Linked DNA regions of Homo sapiens: region 1 is linked to region 2. Evidence: promoter capture Hi-C in human tissues and cell types (Jung and others, 2019). All regions are on one chromosome and are shown on one strand. Each heading gives the region's core, a stretch centred on a gene start or on the middle of the fragment in contact. The rest is flanking DNA. Distances are from core to core; before and after follow the strand shown.

Region 1 (3,152 bases), core at 1-2,500, 340 kb after region 2:
GTGGCTTGGAGACTCCAGCTGACATTCTGGACCTGTGTTCTGGGGTGCAGCCACTCTTGCTTGAAGGCTGTATCTGTGAGCCTAAGGGGCAGCGCTGACTCATGCTATGGGCTGTGTCCCCTCTGAGTGAAGGGCACGTGGCCTTCTTGGACTGTCTTTGATCCACAGGAACTGTCCATGGGATCCTGGGGCAAGATCTGTAGAACACAAGGGAAGAGTCTGCAGGACCGCAGTGTGGGAGCCCGGGCTGGCGTGGGAAGGGGCTCTCTGGGCCTTGAGGTGGGCTAGGATCCAGTCCCACACCATGGGGGCTTCCCGCAGGTGCTGCGGAAGGGCCAGGCCATGCCCTCTTGCAGCTGTTGTCGGTAAGGGCTGCCCTGGGCTGGGCACGCAAGCGCTAAGTCAGTGCCTCCCAAAGGGATCAAACCTGTAAAAACGTCTCTTAGCTCACTACACATCACACTGATGTGGGCCATGGCCGGTGACCTCAGTGCCTGCAGGGTGCAGCTCCTCCATCTCATATTTGCTGAGTGGGGCCTGGTGCCAGTTCTGTGCTGAGCATGGATCCGCATTATCTCAGCTGATGCTCGCAACAACCCCATGTGGAAGATATTATGACTCTTTATTCACACTTGGAAGATGAAGAAACTGAGGCTTAGAGAGGTAAAGTTATTTGTCCAAGGCTTCCCAGGCAGGACGTGAGCTGGGGGCTATCTGATTCGGTTCCTTCACCGTCAGCCACTGGGCCCATACTGCACCGTGTGATGACTTTCCTTGGCGAGTATAAAATGGGATTTCACAAGTGAAATGTACATGGGAGCCTGTTGTCATGGCGTTTAGACTCTGGCACAATCTGGGAAGTTGAGTAGATGCTAAGAGCTTAGGAAGCCGCTGCGGGACTGGGAAGAACCCTGGCTTGGGGGTTCTGGCTCTGCTGCTTGCTGGCCCTGTGACCCCAGGCGAGTCATTCTCTTTTCTGAGTCTCAGGTTCTTAATCGGTAAAAGTGGAACGAGACCAATATGCGTTGATGCAAAAACTAAAAGAAGCGATGCCTGTGTACAATCCAGTGTTAACTGTAAAGCATTACAGAGAACATGATCTCCTCTCCCTCCCCCAACTCCACCTACTTCAACCCCCACCCCTACCCCTGCCAATGCCTGGCGTGTGCTGCCTCAGTAAGTGTTAGATGAGTATAGCAGCATGATTTAGCCCCCGCTGTCTGGTTAATATTGTCTGGTTGAGACCATTTGTCCTAAAGGAATACAGAGAAAGGAAAGAGTGTGTCGGGGTGGGAGGGCAAATAGTGGTGATGGAAGCTGAGTTGAGTTTTGCAGGGTGGGGTCTTCTGGATGAGGACAGGTGGGGGAGGGAGAGAGACAGGAACCAGGAGGAGCAAAGTGGAGGTTGGAGAGGTACCACTCTTCACTGCATGCTTGCCACAGGCCAGGCCTGGCACTGGCTGCTTAACAGACCTCATGTTGTTTAATTCTCACACACTTCTACCAGGTAGGCACCTCTATTTCCAGATGAGGAAACCATGGCTCAGAGAGACCAAGTGAGTTACCCGAGGTCACACAGCTCTTCAGTGATGGCACTGGGATTGGAACCCAGGTCTTTCTGGCTTAAAAGTACATGCTTTTAATGAGCCTGCCTCCCCAGGTGAACAATACGAAGACTGCAGGCAGAAAGTGCCTTCGTAAAGGATTTCCCTGCAAGGGAATCAGCCTGGGGCTCCCACCCTTTGGTGTCAGGAGGACGCCTGAGCACTGGACATGAGGAGATGGAGACGAAGCCAGCTGAGCAGGCCCAGGGGACAGTGTGGGAGGAGTTTCCCAGCAGCCCTGTGACTTTGGGAAGGGGCTGCTGCAGAGCGGCCCCCGCTGCTCTGCCCTGCTTGGCCCCTCTGCCATGCTCCGCCTTCAAACTGTGGTGTGCAGGGGCATTGGACTTCCCAGGGGTGCTCTCTACAGATGGTTCAAGGGAGTGAACTTCCAGGTTCTGAAGCATGCATCTGGGATTCTATACTAAGACAGCAGGAGGATGCTGGGCACGTGGCCCTTCCTGCACTTCATGGGAGAGAGGCTTACCTGTCACCCATCTGGAATCCCACTGTGTACAAAACCCCCGAGTGTCAAAGGAAAAATGAGAAATGGTTGGTTATAGAGCAGCCTTCTTCGATGAGGAGCCAGAGTGTCTTAGACCTGCAGCTCTTCTGTCTCTTCTCATCTATAGGAATTTCTATTAAGGGAAATGCTTGGGGCAGGGAGGAATATTTTGATTTCAGAACAACTGAAGTAGGGTAGTTAATGATAGTGATTCTCTTAAGTATAACTAGAATGCTCCCTGGACCTCTAAATTTTTCAAACTATATGGATAAAACCCAGGATGAACATTTTTCTTGTTTTCTTTTGGTTTCAGCATGCTATTCCAAAAGGTAGTTAAACCTATTTTACCAAACCATATCATGAAACATTTATTCCACGTATAGTCAATCCTCGTCTTATAAAATACTTATTATTTTCTTTTCATGAGCAAAATAAGTATTTAAACTTATCGTGAAAAATCTGAAGTGTCAGGCTAACAAAGGGATATGTAGCTTTTCAAAATGATTCAGGAACATGTGAGCACAGAAGTTGGAAGACCACTATGTAACTTCCTTGGCTTGGGTGGTTTTCCCAGTGCCCGTTCATCTGTTCCCTTCTCCCACCCCCTGCTTCTCTCTTTCTTCTCTTAGAATGTTTGAGAAGTATTCCTGATTGCCTGCCATTGCCATTGCCATAATTGACATCGGACACTTTTTCTTTGGGGGAAAAATGGCGCTGCACCGTGGACTGTCTTGTGCCAAATCTTCAGGGAAGTGGGAAACCGAAGGGCTCAGCGCAGGCAGCCGGAAACCATCTTTGACCAAACCAACCTTGTCACACATTTCAAGGGAGTTCTAGATGACAGTCAGATTTCAAGGAATTGTCAGATAGACTTCCTTGTACAAAGTTTGGGTCCCCAAGAAAAGCTTTAAATTGAGAGACAGTTATTGTATTCAGTCAACACTTTTTATTTTCTAATTTTTTATTCTAGCCATCCAAATGGCTGTGAAGTGGTACTTCATTGTGGTTTTGATTTGCATTTCCCTAATGACTGATGCTTTTGAGCA
Region 2 (3,110 bases), core at 232-2,731:
CCCTGTCGGGAAGGAGGGAATGAGGGGCCCAAGCGAACGGATAGACTCTCCTAGATTCTGCCGGGAAAGACCTGGTTCCCAAGAATATTCCCCTGGGGGAGAAGGGGCTGGAATTCTGGGCCTCCCCGAGGACTGGGCGTGGGGGACAGCGGACGACGAGAGGGCATCTCCCCACACACCAGCAGCACCGAAGCAAAGACGGGGAAGTAACAATGCTGGAGGACAGGAGAGTCAGACACAAGGATGGACTGGGGCTAGGGGGCGGCGGGCGGAGCGGAGACACCACACGGGCCACTTACTTTTTGGAGGGGGGTTAAATATATGAGTTAAGCCCTTATGGTCCCGCCGGCCGCCGCACAGAGGGAAACGGGACCTTGGGAGAGAAAAACAGACAAAACACACAGTGTGAGAGGCGCAGCTCGGCCGCCCGGCCCCTCCCGGGGCGCCCCCGTCCGCGCTCCCTCCGGCCCGCAGGGAAAAAGCCACCCGAGGGCGGCCCAAGGTCCGGGAGGCGGGGGGCGGACGGGGCATTCGGGCGAGGCTGCGGCTCCGGCCAATCCCCGGGAGGGGACGAGAGCGACCCCCGCCGGGGCTCCTCGGTCGGACCCGGTCCCACCCCCTCCTCCCGCAGCACGACACCGAACACAAATACGCACACACCGACCCGTGCGTCGAGGATTAACTCCCCGGCCACCGCCGCCCGCTGAGGAAGTGCAGCCGCTGCCCCCCGCGGCCATGACACCCCACTTGGCTCGGTCAGGCGCACCCGGGGACTGTGACAGCTCCAGCTCCCTCCGCCCCCATCTCCACCTCACGCTTCGCACACGCCCGAGCGCCGGGCGCCCGCCTGCAGCCCGCCGCGCGTGCACGCAGACCCGGGGGCGCGCCCCGCGCGTGGGGGAGGGGTGGCGCAGGAGGAGGACGGCGGCGGCCACAGCGCGGGTGGGGGCCGAGCACGCCCGCGCCCCTCGCGCCTCCCCCAGTACAGCGGCAGCGCCGCGAGGCGAGTCGCCACAATAAGCCGGCGGCGGCGCCGGGGCGCCGGGCCTGGAGCGGGAGCAGGGGCGGGAGCGGGGAGGGAGGGGAGCGAGCAGGCGGGGATGGAGAGCGGGAGGGGGAGGAACCCGCGCTCCCGCCGAGAGCCAGCCCCGGGGAGGCGCGCGGAGGGGAGGGGCCGGCGCGCGCTCGGCCGAGCAGGGGAGCCCGCCTGGAGGTCGCGCGCGCTCACACTCCGGGGGGTGGGGGAAGGGGGGACGCTCGAGCCAAAGAGGGCGGGCGGGCCGGAGCAGCAATTGCCACTTCCCCAGCTTCCTCCCTGGTCTGGGGCGACCGGCGGCGGGGCGGCCGGAGGGGCGGCGGCGGTCGGCGGAGGGTCTCACCTACACAGTGAATGAGCTTGTGGCGCCACGAATCCAGTTCTTGCCGAAAGCCGCGTCTCTCAACGGAGCATTGCTGCCGCCTACACACCCTCGCCATCTTCTGCCGCCCGCCCGGCCCAGCCTCCGCCGCGGCCCCGCGCACGCCCAGCCGCGTCGCCCGGGGCCGCGCACGCACCCGCGGCCCGGGCGTCGCGCCTCCTGCCGGGGGCGGTGCGGGGGCAGGGCCGGCCTCACCTCACCGTGGCCCCGGCGTGGCCCGGGGGCGGCCTGGGCCCGCTCACCCGCCCCGCGCGCCGCCCGCCGGGCTGCGATCCCGCCGTCCTTCTACGCGGCTGCCGCCGCCTCTGGCCGCCCGGGACGGCGCCTTCCCACAGCCGGAAGTCAGTCCCGCTGGCCCCGCGCCGCCTTCGCACTGTCCCCCAAGGCCACGGCTGCCCCCGCCCTCCCCGGGGCTTTTTGTTTTTTACGCCAGCCCCATTTATCACTTCCAACCTGCCTATCGCCCGGCACCAACTGTTGCAAGTTCCGTAATAACTGCTGCTATGAACTTCTCCGTCGAAACTGCTCCTCCCCAGAGCCTGTTTAAGAAGCAGAAATAAGAATAAATTCCCGGATGCCGGTGGATGCACTGACCTCTAAGATTTTCAAAGGTGAAGTGGATACACGTTATTAAGTCATTGGGAGACATCGCCAACATTGGGAAACCTAGTAAAAAGTGGAAATCGAGCGTTTTAAATAAAAAAAAAAAAAGGTTTCTACTAGCAAGACTGATCGTAGGCGAACTTCTCAAGGAATTTTGGAATATTGTGCCAAAGTGAGAATATTTAATATTTCCAAAAGTAGACTTAACTAGGAATACTTAAAGCAGAGACTATTGGAAATGCTTTAATTTGGGATTTCAGGAAAGGGCTTGAAGAGAAATATTTTATATGAGCAAGCCTCTTGGAATAATTGAATCACCTTAATTTTGTCACTGTTACTTCGAAGAGAACGAGAAGAGAGAAGATGGGAAACGAAAGGAGAAAGGGAAAAGAAATGGGGTGGAAAGAAAAAAGCAGAAGAGATCGCCCTATACCAGTAGGCCTAGTACCCTAGGATTCTGGCCTCTTTCTCCCACCTTTGGTGTTTAAGATTAAGGACAGTGCATTCCTGCTTTTAGAAATTTAAATTTAAGTTTGAAGACTTAATTTTAATTACTGTAGTAGGTAAAGCAAAGTCGTTAAATACTTGACATCAGGATCCCATTGGAGTATTGATTTAGGTCTTTTCAAAGGTGGTGGTCCTGGTTCTCTGCACCAGCCACTGGCGGAATGGCGGAATGGTGTATCTACCAATGAACAGATGGACTGGGTGGGCCTCGGGTACGGGTGGCTTGAGATGCAAATGCAAGGGTAGGAAGGCACCTTCCCCCCCACCACTCCCAGCCCACCCCGCCAATCTTAAAACATTGATCTTTATAAAATTCGCAAACGTCCCACAGGATTTCATTGGCTTAAGAGTATTGTCAAATGAAGACGCCAGGAAGTATTGAGTTTCTGGGTACATAATACTGTCCTGAGTGTTGAAGGAAGAGGACTAATACGAGATTTTAAAAAATGGCTGTGGACAACCATCCTTCAGGTGTGATGGCAGGACATCTTGTATCACCTGAAACTTCCTTTTTTCGCCGCTAGGTGGTGGGTGTGAGTCTTTTGCGGCCTTTAAGTTTCTACGGTGTTTGGAGGAAATACG

The links. Contacts are between HindIII fragments. The study calls those that stand out against the background at their distance.
Region 1: a fragment that was not itself captured here is called in contact with the fragment with the promoter of LCOR in region 2 in 1 of the 25 tissues and cell types used here (H1 embryonic stem cells).

Annotation. Positions count from the first base shown.
Region 1 is chr10:96,485,539-96,488,690 of GRCh38, reverse strand. The region is part of intron 1 of TLL2 (tolloid like 2); the gene reads left to right. Among named protein-coding and RNA genes, the nearest start is that of TLL2, 27 kb to the left of the region's middle. RefSeq lists an enhancer at 1,356-1,855. The HindIII fragment of the contact is 6,246 bases long and covers 1-3,152 here.
Region 2 is chr10:96,830,669-96,833,778 of GRCh38, reverse strand. LCOR (ligand dependent nuclear receptor corepressor) reads right to left here and starts at 1,481. Exons shown (of 8, transcript NM_001346516.2): 1 at 1,380-1,481; 2 at 300-373. LOC102723665 (a long non-coding RNA gene) reads left to right here and starts at 1,321. Exons shown (of 1, transcript NR_135921.1): 1 at 1,321-3,110. RefSeq lists enhancers at 1-241, 242-957, 958-1,672, silencers at 419-658, 699-758, 799-1,518, 1,529-1,578, 1,599-1,898 and a cis regulatory region at 2,934-3,110. The HindIII fragment of the contact is 19,511 bases long and covers 1-3,110 here.